5 separate regions of the Homo sapiens genome follow, and all the other regions are linked to region 4. The links are contacts of gene promoters, found by promoter capture Hi-C in human tissues and cell types (Jung and others, 2019). All regions are on one chromosome and are shown on one strand. Each heading gives the region's core, a stretch centred on a gene start or on the middle of the fragment in contact. The rest is flanking DNA. Distances are from core to core; before and after follow the strand shown.

Region 1 (3,455 bases), core at 149-2,648, 140 kb before region 4:
GTGGATCACGAGGGCAAGAGATCGAGACCATCCTGGCCAACATGGTTAAATCTCGTCTCTACTAAAAATACAAAAATTAGCCAGGAGTGGTGGCGGGTGCCTGTAGTCCCAGCTATTCAGGAGGCTGAGGTAGGAGAATCGCTTGAACTGGGGAGGCAGAGGTTGCAATGAGCCAATATTGTGCCACTGCATTCTAGCCTGGCAACAGAGCGAGACTCTGTCTCAAAAAAAAAAAAAGAAAAAAAACCAAAACTATTCAATCCCTCTAGGCCCAGGAACTATCACGGATGAGGTGGGTGTGTGAGATTATAAGGGCCAATTTTGAGGGATAAAATTAGTTCAGAGTTTTTCTTATAAATTAAACGTTAATATCAAAAGCACACTGATGCAAGGTGAGGGTCTGAGCCCATGTGTCAGGAGTAAGGGTTTTTGTGGAGCATTGATCTGTTCTTTTTAATAGAAAATCATGAAAGCTTATAAAAAGTTTATCAAAATCTTACCCTATGGTCAAACCAATGAAAATTAGATAGATTTATTGATAAAGTTTTATTAAAATTATCTTTAACATTAATAAATACACCATATAAAGGTAAAATTTGGGTTTTCTCTTTTGAACAAAATTTGTATAATATTAATAAGAGAGAAAATAGTTTTGTTTAAGTAAACTGGAGGGAAAAAATGGATTGGAGAGGGACAGATTTGTTTGGTCTCATGCTGTCTTATTGTTTGAGAAACTGTATCTCCTATTAAAAGGTAAATATTTTTGTTTTATCATTTTGGCTAAATAAATGACTTGTGTTTTCCTTTTTTTCTTTTTTTTTTTTTTTGGGACAGAATTTCATTCTTGTCGCCCAGGCTGGAGTGCAGTGGCCCAATCTCAGCTCACTGCAACCTCTGCCTCCAGGTTCAAGCAGTTCTCCTGCCTCAGCCTCTCAAGTAGCTGGGATTAACAGGCACGTGCCACCACACCTGGCTAATTTTTGTATTTTTAGTAGAGACGCGGTTTTACAATGTTGGCCAGGCTGGTCTTGAACACCTGACCTCAGATGATCTGCCTGCCTTGGCCTCCCAAAGTGCTGGGATTACAGGTGTGAGCCACTGCACCCGGCCATAAATGACTATTTTATTGTGACCTGTGATCATGTTTTGTGATATCAAGTGTTTTAAAATTTTTGTAATTGGCAAAATTTCTAGGAGCACAATTTAAAGGTCTAAATTCAGTCTTTTTGACCTCAAACTAACTTTTTTGGATATTAGGTTCCCTCAAGTCCAAGAGAGATATCTTAGGTTAATTTGTTATTTTAGAATCATGCAGGAAACATTGTCAGATCCAAGGTGGTGTTTAGCTTCCTTCGGGTTATATTTTATTTTTGAGATGGAGTCTCACTCTGTCGCCCAGACTGGAGTACAGTGGCTCAATCTTGGCTCACTGCAACCTCTGCCTCCCAGGTTCAAGCAATTCTTCTGCCTCACCCTCCCAAGTAGCTGAGATTACAGGCACGTGCCACCATGCCCGGCTAATTTTTGTATTTTTAGTAGAGACAGGGTTTCACCATACTGGCCAGGCTGGTCTCAAACTCCTGACCTCGTGATCCGCCTGCCTCGGCCTCCCAGAGTGCTGGGATTACAGGCGTGAGCCACCACGCCTGGCCCTTAGGGTTATATTTATATAGATGAGTTGTTAATATATGTTCTAGGATTGTATGAGATTCCTAAAATTCTGATATGTCAATGTGTTTCTTGGCATAATTTGAGTAAGAACCTATTTTCTTTTATAATGGAACAGTGTGAGGTTCCAGCAAGGCCAATTTAGAAGGATCTATGTGGACAATGATTTTTGCTGCACTTTTTGGGGGTAATCAGGCCAAGTATATGGGACCAAAGCTTTTTTATTTTTTATTTTTTAGACAGAGTCTCACTCTGTCACCCAGACTGGCTCACTGCAACCTCCATCTCCTGGGTCTCCAACTCCTGGCCTCAAGTGATCCACCTGCCTTGGCCTCCCAAACTGCTGGGATTACAGGCAGAAGCCACCATGCCCAGCCATGGACTGAAGCTTATTTTGCAGGTAGGTTCATCCTGCTTTGACTTGTCTTTGGTGGGGGCAGTGGTGGCTGGACAGAGAATGATTGTGTTTCAGAAGGTGGCCACATGGTCACCTCCTCAGCATGAAGCAGCCAGAAAGATCAATGGTCAGATTCCCCATGATTAAAAAAATTGATAAATAGAGGGGACTGAAACTGACCCAATAGTCCCATAGACTGTTTTGTTTTTGATAAATAGAAATGGACACTTCCAGTCTTAAACCTTGAAACTTATGTTTGTTTTATCTGAATTTCTTCTTCTTCAAGAAGGAACCTCCCCACCCCAACCCAGGCATCTCAAAAAATATCAAAGAACTGAAACTCACCAGATCATCACATCCAGACCCCTCATTCATCACGATTACTTCCTTATGCCTCCCAAGTTCCCATTTTCCCACACATCATTACATTTCTTCCCAGCTACATAAACCCCTAATTTTAGTCAGTCAAGGGGATGGATTCAAGACTGATCTCCCACCTCCTCAGCTGCAGCACCCAATTAAAGCCTTCTTCCCTGGCAATACTCATCACCTCAGCCATTGGCTTTCTGTGTGGCAAGCAGCAGACCTAGACCATATCCCTGGTGTTTCAGTAACAAGATGAGGGTCTAATTTCATTCTTCTGCATGTGGATATCTATTTTTCCCAGCATCATTTATCAAAGAGCTCTCCTTTTCCCATTGTGTGTTCTCAGCACTTTTGTCTGAAATTCATTGACTGTACATGTGTGAGTTTACTTCTGGACTTTTTATTCTGTTCCATTGGTCTGTGTGTCTGCTGTCATTCCAGTAACATACTGTCTTGATTACTATAGATTTGTAATATAGTTTGAAATCCAGAACTGATGCCTTCAGCTTTGTTTTTCTTGCTGAATTGTGTTTATTATTCAAAGTCTTTTGTGGTTAAATTTTAGAATTTTGTTTCTATTTCTATGAAAAATACCCCTGAAATTTTGATAGGGATTTGCATAGAATCTGTGGATCACTTTGTGTAGCATGGACATTTTAACAATATTAATTCCTTCAATCCATGAACATGGGATATCTTTTCATTCATTTGTGTCTTCTACAATTTCTTTGATCAATTTTTTTTTTGTAAACGGATCTTTTACTTCCTTGGATAAATTAATTCCTGAGCATTTTTTATTCTATTTTAAATGGGATTGCTTTATTGATTATTTTTTCAGATAGATTGTTGTCAGTGTGTAGAAACACACTGAATTGTCTACATTGATGTTGAATCTTGCAATTGAATTTGTTTATTAATTCTAAGAGATTTGTTTGTGGCATCTGTAAGATTCTCTAGGCTGGGTGCAATGGCTCACATCTGTAATCCCAGCACTTTGGGAGACCGAAACAGGCGGATCATTGAG
Region 2 (3,762 bases), core at 1,158-3,657, 150 kb after region 4:
TGAGGCAGGGGAATCGCTGGAACCTGGGAGGCAGAGGTTGCAGTGAGCTGAGATCATGCCATTGCACTCCAGCCTGGGTGACAAGAGTGAAACTCTATTTCAAAAAAAAAAAGAAAAGAAAAAGAAAAAAAAGAAAAAGAAAAGGGATAACAATAGTTCCTGGCGCTTAGGATTTTTTCTTTTTTTTTTAGACAGAGTCTTTCTCTGTCACCCAGGCTGGAGTGCAGTGGTGCAATTTTGGCTCGCTGCAAGCTCCGTCTCCTGGGTTCATGCCATTCTCCTGCCTCAGCCTCCTGAGTAGCTGGGACTATGGGCACCCACCATCACGCCCAGCTACCTTTTTTGTATTTTTAGTAGAAATGGGGTTTCACTGTGTTAGCCAGGATGGTCTCAATCTCCTGACCTTGTGATCCTCCCGCCTTGGTCTCCCAAAGCACTAGGATTACAGGCGTGAGCCACAGCACCCGGGGTAGGATTGTTAAGAACATTAAATGAAGGCCGGGCACAGTGGCTCACGCCTGTAATCCCAGCACTTTGGGAAGTCGAGACGGGCAGATCACAAGGTCAGGAGTTTGAGGCCAGCCTGGTCAATATGGTGAAACCCCGTCTCTACTAAAAATACAAAAATTAGCTGGGCATGGTGGCAGGTGCCTGTAGTCCCAGTTACTCAGGAGGCTGAGGCAGGAGAATTGCTTGAACTAGGGAGGTGGAGGTTGCAGTGAGCCAAGATCATGCCACTGCACTCCAGCCTGGGAGACAGAGTGAGGCTCCATCTCAAAAAAAAAAAAAAAAAAGAACGTTAAATGAGATAATACTGAAAATCAAGCACTTAAAAAAAGAAAAATTATATAATATATAATATTAATTATTATATTAAATTATATTAATCACATTAAAATAATATACTAAAATATTTAAAATATTATATAACAATAGTATTTTTAATATAATAATTTTATATTTTAATATAATATTGCTATTATATAATAAATAATTATATTATTATTGTTATGCACACTTGCTAACCGCTTGCTAAGGCCAGGCTCTTTTATTATAATAATAATAATTATTATTATTCCCACAAAGTTGACTTAAAGTTCAAGGTCAGCTTCAGTAAGAAAACCCTGTAATCCCAGCACTTTGGGACAGAGCAAGACTCCATCTCAAAAAAAAAAAGAAAACCCATTACCATCCATCAAGTGCCTACTCTAGCATAGGCAGTGGGCTAAGCCTTTGTACATGCTTTATCTCTGTCTTCCTTTGTTACAGTTGGCTCTGTCACCATCGTCTCCATATGACAGGTGAGCAAACAGAGGATCAGAGAGGTAAATTCACTTGCCCAAGGTCACACAGCTTAAAGTAGAGGAACTCAGGCCAGGTGAGGTGGCTCATGCGTATAATCCCGGCACCTTGGGAGGCCAAGGTGGGCAGATCACCTGAGGTCAGGAGTTCGAGACCAGCTTGACCAACATGGTGAAATCCTATCTCTACTAAAATACAAAAAAAATTAGCTGGGCATGGTGGCAGGTGCCAGTCATCCCAGCTACTTGGGAGGCTGAGGTAGGAGAATCGCTTGAACCCAGGAGGTGGAGGTTGCAGTGAGCTGACATTGCGCCACTACACTCCAGCCTGGGTGACAGAGCCAGACTGCATCTCAATTTTAAAAAAAAAGGCCGGGCACGGTGGCTCACGCACACCTATAATCCCAGCACTTTGGGAGGCCAAGGCAGGTGGATCACGAGGTCAGGAGATCGAGACCATCCTGGCTAACACAGTGAAACTCCATCTCTATTAAAAATACAAAAAATTAGCCGGTCGTGGCGGTGGGCGCCTGTAGTCCCAGCTACTCGGGAGGCTGAGGCGGGAGAATGGCGTGAACACGGGAGGCAGAGCTTGCAGTGAGCTGAGATCATGCCACTGCACTCCAGCCTGGGCAACAGAGCGACTCTGTCTCCAAAAAAAAAAACAATTAGCTAGGCATGGTGGCAGCATGTGCCTGTGGTCCTGGCTACTTCAGAGGCTGAGGCAGGAGTATTGCTTGAGCCTGGGAGTTTGAGGCTGCGGTGAGCTATGATGATGCCACTGTACCCCAGCCTGAGCAACAGAGCAAGGCCCTGACTCTAATAAATAAATACATACATACATAAAAGATAAAAACAGTTCCCTCCACTGCCCCCACCCCGATTCCTATTCCTGGGTAATCTGGATGGGAGGCCTCTTCCCTGCCTACTTCTGCCCCCTGCCCTGCCTGGACAGTGCCAGTCCCACGGCTTATGCTCAGGGCTGCTGTCACTGCACAGCCAGGCTGCCCTGGTGCAACTGGGGAGCGGCCCAGCAGGTTTTTCCTCCCAGTCTGCCTGCCGCGGGGCACCGGGCTGTCCTCTCCCCGCCTCATCAGGGCCCAGCCTTCCCAAGCTCGCCTTCTCTCTGCCGGGCGCAGCCGGCTGGTGGTGGCCACTGAGACAAGATGCCTAGCATCTTCGCCTATCAGAGCTCCGAGGTGGACTGGTGTGAGAGCAACTTCCAGTACTCGGAGCTGGTGGCCGAGTTCTACAACACGGTGAGTGCGTGGGTGTGTGAAGGAGTCTCGCCAGATGCCGGTTCGAATCCCGGTTCCTCCCCATACAGCCTTACTGGGGAATCTTGCTGGAGTGGTTCACCTGTCTCAGCCCTAGTTTTCTCATCTGTTAGCCAAAGAGTGCCAGCTTTCATTCATTTACTTGTCTTTACTTGATGCCAAGCTCTGTGGTAGGTTTTGGAGACACATTGGTGGCCAGGAAAAGAACCGGTCTCTGCCTTCCCTAAGCTAACTCTGATGTGACTGCAGGCATTTGCAACCGGGAGCGATGGTGCCTTCTTGGAGGGCACAGAGGCAGCTGTGGTAGGGGGAGGCAGAGGGTGCCCCTGAGCTAGAGGGGGTGGGCCAATCAGGAAAGGCTTCCTGGAAGAGGTGATTGTGTCTGTCTTGTTTGCAGCTGTACCCACTGACCAACTTGTCCCAGTGTGCCTGGGACTATCCTGGTTTCAGTATTTAAAAAGTTTCACCTCTTGGCTGGGCGCGGTGGCTCACGTCTGTAATCCTAGCACTTTGGAAGGCCAAGGTGGGTGGATTGCCTGAGCTCAGGAGTTGGAGATCGCCCTGGGCAACGTGGTGAAAGCCCATCTCTACTAAAATAAAAAATTAGCTGGGTACGGTGTCAGGCATCTGTAGTCCAAGCTACTCAGGAGGCTACGGCATGAGAATCGCTTGAACCCAGGAGGCGGAGGTTGCAGTGAGCTGAGATTGTGCCACTGCACTCCAGCCTGGGTGAAAAAGCGAGACTGTCTCAAAAAAAGAAGAAAAAAAGTCCCACCTCCTGAGAAACTCCTCAGTTCTGGACATTCTGAGGTGGTCTTCTCTTTCCCTGTTAAAACACCACATGGGAAGTGCTAAAAAATCATGGATGTACCTAGCACCATGGCTCATGCCTGTAACCCCAGCAATTTGGAACGCAGAGGCAGGAAGATCGCTTGAGCCCAGGAGTTCCAGACCAGCCTGGGCAACATAGCAAGACCCTGTCTCTACAAAAAGTTTTTAAAAATTAGCTGGGTGTGGTGGTGTGTGCTTGTAGTTCCAGCTACTTGGGAGGCTGAGGGGGGAGGATTTCTTGAACCCAAGAAGTGGAGGATGCAGTGAGCTGAGGTCATACCACTGCACTCCAGCCTGGGTGACAGAGGGAGACCCTGTCTCAAAAAAAAAAAAAAAAAAAAAAGGCCGGGCGC
Region 3 (3,337 bases), core at 749-3,248, 190 kb before region 4:
GTCTGGGGCAGAGTGAGCAAAAGCACGAGGGTCCAACCACAGAGGCCCCAGTGAAGGGCACTTCGTGTCTTAGCCTAAGCTCAGGGGCAAGCTGGCAGCAAACTGTATCTATAAAGGGCCACATAAGTGTTTTTGGCTTTCAGGGCCAAGAGGTAAAATCAAGGATATTACAAAGATACTTATGAAACAAGACAGAAGCCAAGTGCAGTGGCTCACGCCTGTAATTCTAGCATTTTGGGAGGCTGAGGTGGGCAGATCACCTGAGGTCAGGAGTTCGAGACCAGCCTGGCCAACATATAGACAACATATATGTTACAACATATATAATGGCCAACATATAATACAAAAATTAGCTATGCATGGTGGTGGGCGCCTGTAATCCCAGCTACTCAGGAGGCTGAGGCAGGAAAATTGCTTGAATCCGGGAGGCAGAGGTTGCAGTGAGCCAAAATGGCACCACTGCACTCCAGCCTGGGTGACAAAGTGAGACTCTGCCTCAAAAAAAAAAAGAAAGAAAAAGGCTGGGTGCGGTGGCTTATGCCTGTAATCCCAGCACTTTGGGAGGCCAAGGCAGGCGGATCACGAGGTCAGGAGATTGAGACCATCCTGGCTAACACGGTGAAACCCCGTCTCTACTAAAAATACAAAAAATTAGCTGGGTGCGGTGGTGGGCGCCTGTAGTCCCAGCTACTCAGGAGGCTGAGGCAGGAGAATGGCGTGAACCTGGGAGGCGGAGCTTGCAGTGAGCCGAGATCGCACCACTGCACTCCAGCCTGGGCGACAGAGCGAGACTCCGTCTCGAAAAAAAAAAAAATCCACGCTTGAATGCATGCACACTCATACATGGACCTCCCCACACACATGAACACACCCGTGCAAGTGCGCACACACACATACACGCACCAATGCACAGGCACACACACATGCACACACCTGCACACAGCACATATATGCACACCCACTTGCACATGTGATGCATGTTCACACATACACACACGTGCACATGCATGCATGTACATGGACCACATGCACATGCACACAGATGACCATACACATATGCATGCACCTGCCCACATATGCACGCACATTTACATGCCAGCACATGTATGATACACAGGCATGCGCCTGCACATGTGTACATGATACACACTTGCATGCACACAACTGAATACACACATTCACATGCACACACTGCACACATATATGCATGCAGACAAGCACACACACAGAGCACACATCCACTCCTTTATTCCACTCTTGTGTTTTTCACTGCACTTGTCACATCAAAACACAACAGAAGGCCGGGCATGGTGCGGCTCACGTTTGTAATCCCAGCACTTTGGGAGGCTGAGGTGGGTGGATCGCTTGAGGTCAGGAGTTCGAGACCAGCCTGACCGACATGGTGAAAACCCATCTCTACTAAAAATACAAAAAGCAGCCAGGCGTGGTGGCACGCGCCTGTAATCCCCGCTACTTGGGAGGCTGAGGCAGGAGAATTGCTTGAACCCAGGAGGTGGAGGTTGTAGTAAGCTGAGATCGCGCCACTGCACTCCAGCCTGGGCAACAGAGCGAGACTCCATCTCAAAAACAAAACAAATAAACGAACAAAAAAACCCACAACGTATTATTTTCTTGTTTACGAGGTTTCTTGTCTCTCTGGCTCCACCAGAAGAGGAGCAGGGACCCTTCTTGCTGTTGTTCATTGCTGCATCCCCCACACCGAGAGCAGAGCCTGGCATGGGCAGAAAGTCCTCAGTCGATATTTGGTGGCCCCAAGCGAATGAAGCATCCAAGAAGGGAAAGCTGGGGGCTCCCCACTGCACTTGCCACCTGAGTCACATTTTCAGAAGCCTCTGGAAAGTGTGAGAGTCTGTATGAGTGAGAGTGAGACAGGGCCAAGACCGGGGGCGGCGGGTACCGGAAGAAGAGGAGGGTGAGTGGGGGAAGGGGTGGGGCTGAACCCCAGCTCTAAAGGCGGCCCACGGGTGCCTGTCCGCAGCGTGCACAGCCCAGGAGTGTTGAGCAATTTCGGTTTCCTCTGAGGTTGAAGGACCCAGGCGTGTCAGCCCTGCTCCAGACACCTTGGGCATGGAGGAGAGTGTCGTACGGCCCTCAGTGTTTGTGGTGGATGGACAGACCGACATCCCATTCACGAGGCTGGGACGAAGCCACCGGAGACAGTCGTGCAGTGTGGCCCGGGTGGGTCTGGGTCTCTTGCTGTTGCTGATGGGGGCCGGGCTGGCCGTCCAAGGCTGGTTCCTCCTGCAGCTGCACTGGCGTCTAGGAGAGATGGTCACCCGCCTGCCTGTGAGTGGGACCGGGGGGCTGAGAGCAGGTGGAGGTGAGGGGGGCTCCCCTGTGTCATTGTGGGTCACTGTGTGTCTGTGTGTGTGTGTGTGTGTGTGTGTGTGTGTGTGTGTAGGACAGGGCACAGGCTGAGAGCAGCTGGCTTGACTGGTTGCTGCTCCCAGCCTTGGGCAAGTGAATTCACCTCTCTGAACCTCAGTGTCTTCATCTACAAAATAAGGGCAGTCTCTTCATAGGGGACGAAGTATGCTATGGCATGTGTAGTACCAGACGATGCCAGCTCCACCCGTCGGAACTGACACCCCAACACTGCCATGCACACCCCTGTGCACACACGCATGCATTTTCTCTGTACTTTTTTATTTTTGAGACGGAGTTTCACTCTCGTTGCCCAGGCTGGAGTGCAATGGCATGATCTCTGCTCACCGCAACCTCTGCCTCCCGGGTTCAAGTGATTCTCCTGCCTCAGCCTCCCGAGTAGCTGGGATTACAGGCATGCGCCACCACGCCTGGCCAATTTTGTATTTTTAGTAGAGATGGGGCTTCTCTATGTTTGTCAGGCTGGTCTCAAACTCCCGACCTCAGGAGATCCACCCGCCTCAGCCTCCCAAAGTGCTGGGATTACAGGTGTGAGCCACTGCGCCTGGCCTTCTCTGGTACTCTTATTACTGTTACTGCGATTGTCATTAATTCTCTGACCATTTCCATCTGTGGAAATTTCTCGGTCTGCTTCCAGCTGGCTGTGGATGTGTCCGCCTGTCTGTGTGCCTCACCTGGGGGTCTATGTGTGCCCAACACCATACCCCTGTGGGCTTGGCCCCTTTTGTGTCCTGGGTCTGGATCCGGTGGCCACACATTCGTGTCCATATACCCATGTGGACGTATGTGCGTGTACCCACATGTCCACACACCCGCCTAGCTGCAGCCGGTGTATTCACGTTGTCTGTCTTTGTCTCTGGGTCTCTGTGTCTGTAGACGCACATGGATCCATAAACCACAAACCACATGTCCACGCATCTGAGCCCACATG
Region 4 (3,728 bases), core at 720-3,219:
GTGTTTGTTTGGAGATAGGGTCTTACACCGTTGCCCAGGCTGGAGTGCAATGGCACGATCACAGCTCACTACAACCCCCACCACCTGGGCTCAAGGGATCCTCCCGCCTCAGCCTACAGAATAGCTGGGACTACTGCACCTGGCTAAAGTTTTAATTTTTGTAAAGATGGGGTCTTGTTATATTGCTCAGGCTGATCTTTAACTCCTGGCCTCAAACAATCCTACCTCAGCCTCCCAAGGTGCTGGGATTACTGAGCCACTGCCTCCAGCCCCTGTGTCTTTCATAGTCTGCAGCACGGCTTGAGTGTGTCGGGCTGTCATGAGTATCTGGCTGTCATGTGAGTCCAGCTGTGTCTCTCTCTGCATGTGGCCGGGTCTTGGCTATAACTATATCTGGTTATTACTTGAGCTATGTCTGTGCTGTGTTTCCATCTATCTGGGTCTATTTCTCTGTTATTCTGTTTGTATCAATGGCTGTGGTCTCTGTGTAACTGTTTATTGTGTCTCTGTCTGTCTCTGCATTTGTTTGTTTGTTTGTTTGCTTTGTTTTTGTTTTTGTTTTTGAGATGGAGTCTCACTCTTTCACCCAGGCTGGAGTGCAGTGGCACGATCTCGGCTCACTGCAACCTCTGCCTCCCGGATTCAAGTGATTCTCCTGCTTCAGCCTCCCAAGCAGCTGGGATTACAGGCACATGCCACCATGCCCAGCTAATTTTTTGTTTGTTTGTTTGTTTTTGATTTTTTGAGACAGAGTCCTGCTCTGTCGCCCAGGCTAGAGTACAGCGGCGCGATATCGGCTCACTGCAAACTCCGCCTCCCAGGTTCAAATAATTCTGCCTCAGCCTCCTGAGTAACTGGGATTACAGATGCCCACCACCGTGCCTGGCTAATCTTTGTATTTTTAGTAGAGACTGGGTTTCACCATCTTGGCCAGGCTGGTCTCGAACTCCTGACCTCGTGATCCACCTGCCTCAGCCTCCCAAAGTGCTGGGATTACAGATGTGAGCCACCGCACCTGGCCTGTATTTTTTTTTAATTAGAGACAGGGTTTCACCATGTTGGCCAGGCTGGTTGCAAACTCCTGACCTCAAGTGATCCGCTTACCTTGTCTTTCTGCGCACAATGGGTGTGTAACTGTGACTAAGTTGTTTTTTTTTTTTTTTGAGACAGGATCTCACTTTGTTGCTCAGGCTGGAGTACAGTAGTGCAATCTTGGTTCACTATGGCCTCAAACTCCCCAGGCTCAGGCGATCCTCCTGACTCAGCCTCCTGGGTAAGCTGGGACTATAGGTGCGTGCCACCACCGCCAGCTATAATTTTTGTAGCTTTTATAGACACAGGGTTTCGCCATGTTTCCCAGGCTGGTCTCGAACTCCTGGGCTCAAGCGGTCCTCCCACCTTGGCCTCTCAAAGTGCTGGGATTATAGGCGTGAGCCACTGTGCCCGGCCTGGGACTATGATCCAGCTGTAGGACTCCCTATCTCTCCATGTCTGTCGTCTCTGGCTCTTCTGCACTCGGTTTGTCTGTGCTGATGACTTCCTGAGCGTGTAACTGTCTGTGTCTGTGTCTGTCTGTCCGTCCCTGTGCCTGTACTTCGTGCTCTTTGTCCCCATCCCTGGCCCCCCCACCGTCCACTTTACAGGTGGCTCCCTCTGGTGGTCCACCAGTGACCGTCCAGGCCAAATGGACCAAGGGAAAGAGACGGGGAGGCATTTCATTAATAGACAGACTGTGAATCTTGGCTGCTGCGGAGCGGGGAAGGAGAGATGAGGGCCCAGGCACGATGGGGGGAACCAGACACAGTCCAGCCTGGCGGGGACGGAGCTGGGGGTCTGCCTTCCCAGGCTGACCACTTATTGCCCACCCATCCCCAACATAATTAGCAGGCAGGATGCCTGGGTTTCTCACGGGGGTGGGGGCAGGGCCTCTGTCCGGGGACGTCACCCGTTAAACTTCCTCTCTCAGCCACACAGGAAGCTGAGCCGGCTTGGGGCCCAGCATACACAGGCCCCCAGGACCCCTGGGGAGAGGGCCCCGCTGGGCTGGCCCTGCAGGGACCATGGAATCCAGAGCTGAGTAAGAGCCACCCCATCCCTCATTCTCTGGTACAAGATTCCCGGGCCAGGCCTGAGCCGGGGCAGAGGGGAGCTGGGGCTGGAGCAGGCCCGGGAGGTGCAGTGACCTGCCAGGGCAGGTGGCTGGAATCAGATACTCCATGGGCCTCCGCTATGACCTTCACTCTGGGACAGGCCACTCTCGGTCCCCTCCTCTCTCTCTCTCTCTCTCTCTCTATCCAGCTCCTGTGATTATGTCTATAGCTCTGTGAATGCATGTACCCCTCTGAGCTTTGTCCTTGGTATGTCTGAGTGATGGCTTCAGGGGGTCCACAGGGCGGATGATCAGGGCAGAGGGGAGGCTGGGTGTTGGTATGAGTGGGTGATCGTGTGTGACTTGTGTCGGCGTGAGGGTGAAGTGCTGGGGTACCCATGGTGGGGACTGTGTGTGCAACTGGGCGGGACAGTGTGTGTGCAGCTGATCTCCCTCTAGATCTCCCTGTCTCTCTCCTTGAGCCCAAGGCTGCCTCTTCTGCTTGATATGGGGGCAGAGGAGGAAAGCAGAGATTGCAGGGCTTACAGTAAGTACCTAGGTATCCTGCCCTCCTTTCTCTGATGAGACATGTGGGACCAGCCACGAGGGTTCTATGGGGTCTCACACACAGAGACACACAGCCAGCCCACAAGGATCCCACGCGGTTACCCAGTGACACTCACAGCTGTACAGGAAAATATAGATGTCATTCACTTGCTCGGGCACACACACTCACATCTATACAAGAAAATATAGATGGCATGGCTAGATGCAGTGACTCAAGCCTGTAATCCCAGCAATTTGGGAGGCTGAGGCGGGCAGATCACCTGAGGTCAGGAGTTTGAGAACAGCCTGGCCAGTATGTGAAACCCTGTCTCTACTAAAAATATGAAAATTAGCTGGGCGTGGTGGCGGGCACCTGTAATCCCAGCTACAGGGAGGCTGAGGCAGGAGAATCGCTTGAACCTGTGGGGTGGAGGTTGCAGTGAGCCAAGATCGTGCCACTGTACTCCAGCCTGGGTGACAAAGCAAAACTCCATCTCAAAAAAATAGATAGATAGATAGATAGATAGATAGATAGATAGATAGATAGATAGATAGATAGGTGGGTGGGTGGATGGATAGGTGGGTGGGTGGGTGGATGGATGGATGGATGGATAGACAGAGACAGACAGACAGACAGATAGATGGATATATATATAGAGAGAGAGAGATGTAATTCACTTAGCTTGGGACTGCACGGGCTGTCCTTCATATCTGTGCAGTCTCATGCCACAGATATAGGAGACAGTCTCATCTTTTCAGGCAGACAGCAGACAGGATCACACACACACTGCCTGCTCACAAAAGCCATGCACTCAGCCACACACAATCATACACAGCCACACACACACAGTCACACTTTCTCACTCCATCCTGTACTTGTGTGTTCAATTAACACTGCTGCACACACAGCCTCACACAACCACACACTCACAGCCACAAACCCCCAGAGTCATGCACATGCCGACGCACCTTGTGGCACATGCACACACAACCACACTTGTGTGCAAAGTGGCAGACACAACCACACATGCATAGAAGCAAGTCTCTGGACCCCTTCTGCATCCCACAGAGGGGGCTCCCCTGCTGTGTTTGA
Region 5 (3,397 bases), core at 372-2,871, 170 kb before region 4:
TCTGATCAAGTCTTATGTTCAGATTACCAGCTTACAGCAGGGGTCAGCAAACTGGCCCGTGGACACAATCCTGCCCCACCTCCAATTTTTGTACAGCTCACAAGTTAAGAATAGTTTCACATTTTTAAGTCAAAAGAAGAATAATATTTTATAACACAAAAAGTATATGCAATTAAAATTCCAGCATCCATAAAGATTTTTATTGGTCTACAGTGACTCCCGTCTATTTGTATACTGTCTATGACAGCTTTTGCACTTAAATGGAAGGATTAAGTTGCCGTGACAGGGACTGCATAACTCACAGAGCCAAAAGTATTTAGTATTGGGCCCTTTATAGAAAATATTTGCCAAGCTCTGGTTTACAGGGTTAGGGGATAGAAGAATACGTGCAATGACACTGCAAGGGTGAAATCACACTGGAAAAATCTACAGGACAAGCAACCTAGTGTATCCAATAGCTTAAGAAAAAACAGCAGTAGGCGTAGAGAGTGTAAAGGGAAAATATTTATTGATTTTTTTTTAGTAGGAAATGCATCCAACAAATCCAGTGTGCAAACTTTCCTCTCCTTCCAAAAGGAGAGGACAATAGTCTAAGAAATACCCATAAATCCATCACTTAAATTCAATAGTTTCAATGTCCTGCCTTGCTGACTTTATCAACTACCCTCTTTCTAAATTTGATATTGTTTCAGATATCATCCCATTTCACATGCCCCCTTGAATATTTTGAAGGTATCTCCAAGGGGTAGAAGGTGTATCTCCTTCACGTATGTATAAAACCATGTTGCCTCAAGTGATTCTCCTGCCTCAGCCTTCCAAGTAGCTGGGATTACAGGCATGCGCCACCACACCCAGCTTATTTTTGTATTTTCTGTAGAGACGGGGTTTCGCTATGTTGCCCAGGCTGGTCTTGAACTCCTGGGCTCAAGTGACCCGCTCTCCTTCACCTCCCAAAGTGCTGGGATTGCAGATGTGAGCCACCATGCCAGCCTCCCAAAGTGCTGGGATTACATTTGGATCCAGATTCAAGCCAGTCATGTTAGTCAGGGTTCTCCAGAGAAACAGAACCAAGGAGGGGAAGGTAGAGGCCTTTCCAGCGGCAAACAAGACTCAGAATTTAGGTGCTCCATGTCCTCAACTTCATCCTTGTCTTCCCACATATCCCAATTCCAGTTTCCAGGATACTATTCTTACAGGATACCATTGATACTAATCAATGCCCTCAGTTTATCAGTAGACATCCTTGGAAGCTGGGAGTCCAACTTGCCCTGAAATCCGGCCAATCACAGAATAAGATTCTGTGTTTGCTTTTCACCACTCTCAGCCCTGAGGCTACAGGAGACAAGGATGTCCTTTAGGGCACACATAGAAGATGTCAGGTTACTTATGCAGTGCTTGAGCTGGGAATTCAAATCCCTAAGTTCATCCTCTTCTCTCAGCACTCTATCCAGTGACATTAGGAGGAGCCAGCCAATCTCATTATATTCATTCGATTTTCAAAACTTCTCAGAAGTATCAAATACACAGTGACAAGATCTTTGCTTCTTATAGATAGTTAATTAGGAGTATACAGTGGTGATATCTGCATCTCTCTATTGCCAGATCATGCCATGGACCACCAGTGCTCTCTTACTACTGTAAAGAGTCATTAGCCTCTTTCAGTTTAATCAGATTAGAGAGCCAATTTCAGAAGAACGAGAAGCAATTCAGAAAGCTCATTCTTCCTCTAGAACCACTTTTTTTTTTTTTTTTTGAGTTGGGGTCTCACTCTGTGACCCAGGCTGGATTGCAATGGCATAATCATCGCTCACTGCAGCCTCAAACTCTTTGGCTTAAGGGATTCTCCCATCTCAGCCTTCCAAACAGCTAGAACTACAGGTACACGCTTCCACACCTGGCTAATTTTTTTTTTTTTTTTTTTTTTTTTTTTTTTTGTGAGATGGAGTCTTGCTCTGTTGCCAGGTTGGAGTGCAGTGGCATTATCTCGGCTCACTGCAACCTCCACCTCCTAGGTTCAAGTGATTCTCCCTTCTCAGCCTCCCGAGTAGCTGGGACTACAGGCACGTGCCACCATGCCCAGCTAATTTTTGTATTTTTAGTAGAGATGGGGTTTCATGATGTTGGCCAGGATGGTCTCGATCTCTTGACCTCTTCATCCGCCCACCTCGGCCTCCCAAAGTGCTGTGATTACAGACATGAGCCACCGCACCCAGCCACACCTGGCTAATTAAAAAAATTTTTTTGGAGATGAGGTCTCACTGTGTTGCCTAGGCTGGTTTGAACTCCTGGCCTCAAGCGATCCTCCTGCCTCAGCCTCCCAGAATGCTGAGATTTCCAGCATGAGCCATCACACCCAGTTTAGAACAACTCTTGGTACCAAAATCTGTATTAGTCAGGATTCTCCAGAGAAATGGAACCATTAAGTTTCATATATATATATATATATATATCTCAAACATTGGAGGTCTTTCAGCAGGAGACTGATGTGGTTAGATCACATCAGTGATCTAATGGTGGGGGCCAGAAGAGTGGATTCATAGCACCCCTGTTAGGACAGGGGTGAGACATGAAGAGAGAGGATTCTGATCAGAGAAGGAACAGCAGGCTCCAGCATCAAAGTTGGGAGGGAGGTTTTGGGGTAAGGAGACAAAAAGATAAGCTCAGCCTTCCTCCATAAAGCTTTTTCTGAATCTCACCCACATCCCATCTCCTCCATTCCTGGGCTCCATCCCTGGGGCTCCATTCTTCCAGCCCTGACCACATAGAACTAAAAGCATCTTGTCCAGCTGTGACTCCTCCACCCATCCCAGAGGATCCTCAAAAAAAGGAGCCTGGACATGAGTTATTCTGGGGTCCCCTACACCCAGTAAGGGGTCCAGGAAAAATGTTCTGCAGGATTTCTGCAACGGGAGAGAGCTCAGTGGTCTGAGGCCATGGAAGGCTGGATGAGGATCAGGAAGATCTCAGTGAACAGGGAGGAAATTCAGGGCCATCGCTAGTCTAAGGCTGCAGTGGAGGGTGACCATGGCAGGGGTCACAGAGGAAAATGAGGCAGGGCAAGGGGAAATTGTAAATGCCAGTGTAAAGAATTGTGGTGTCAGTTATAGGCAATAGAGAGTTTCCATCATTAACACCACAAGGAGCAGCATTTAACCAATGATGGATGGGATTTAGTGGATAAATACCCGGCTTCCCTGTCCCCAGGGTGGGACAACTCCAAGGCATAGTCTACACAGTCACCCCAAAGTCCCCAATGGGATAGCCCATAGCAGACACCTGTGCACTAATACACCCTGTATTAGTTCCTACCCATACCTCTTCTCACATTTCCTGGGGATGCCTTTGTGGTGTACAGACCCTGGGGTGATTTCCCAAAAATTCCTACCTCCTGGCATCC

Evidence for each region. The method cuts DNA at HindIII sites, captures the fragments that hold promoters and counts their contacts. A contact is called where the count stands out against the background at its distance.
Region 1: a fragment that was not itself captured here is called in contact with the fragment with the promoter of DENND1C in region 4 in 8 of the 25 tissues and cell types used here (dorsolateral prefrontal cortex, heart left ventricle, heart right ventricle and 5 more).
Region 2: a contact is called between the fragment with the promoter of ACER1 here and the fragment with the promoter of DENND1C in region 4, in 1 of the 25 tissues and cell types used here (lymphoblastoid cells).
Region 3: a contact is called between the fragment with the promoter of TNFSF14 here and the fragment with the promoter of DENND1C in region 4, in 4 of the 25 tissues and cell types used here (adrenal gland, lymphoblastoid cells, mesenchymal stem cells and 1 more).
Region 5: a fragment that was not itself captured here is called in contact with the fragment with the promoter of DENND1C in region 4 in 1 of the 25 tissues and cell types used here (spleen).

Annotation. Positions count from the first base shown.
Region 1 is chr19:6,622,175-6,625,629 of GRCh38, reverse strand. No RefSeq gene overlaps it. Among named protein-coding and RNA genes, the nearest start is that of CD70, 33 kb to the right of the region's middle. The HindIII fragment of the contact is 5,411 bases long and covers 1-3,455 here.
Region 2 is chr19:6,332,257-6,336,018 of GRCh38, reverse strand. ACER1 (alkaline ceramidase 1) reads left to right here and starts at 2,407. Exons shown (of 6, transcript NM_133492.3): 1 at 2,407-2,560. The coding sequence starts at 2,468. The HindIII fragment of the contact is 13,348 bases long and covers 1-3,762 here.
Region 3 is chr19:6,668,821-6,672,157 of GRCh38, reverse strand. It overlaps TNFSF14 (TNF superfamily member 14), which reads left to right and starts at 1,998. Exons shown (of 4, transcript NM_001376887.1): 1 at 1,998-2,307. The coding sequence starts at 2,089. RefSeq lists a silencer at 869-968 and enhancers at 1,539-1,768, 2,149-2,238, 3,139-3,328. The HindIII fragment of the contact is 26,746 bases long and covers 1-3,337 here.
Region 4 is chr19:6,480,028-6,483,755 of GRCh38, reverse strand. It overlaps DENND1C (DENN domain containing 1C), which reads left to right and starts at 1,969. Exons shown (of 23, transcript NM_024898.4): 1 at 1,969-2,077; 2 at 3,705-3,728. The coding sequence starts at 2,061. RefSeq lists enhancers at 1,484-1,778, 3,375-3,728. The HindIII fragment of the contact is 27,793 bases long and covers 1-3,728 here.
Region 5 is chr19:6,645,114-6,648,510 of GRCh38, reverse strand. No RefSeq gene overlaps it. Among named protein-coding and RNA genes, the nearest start is that of TNFSF14, 23 kb to the left of the region's middle. The HindIII fragment of the contact is 4,731 bases long and covers 1-3,397 here.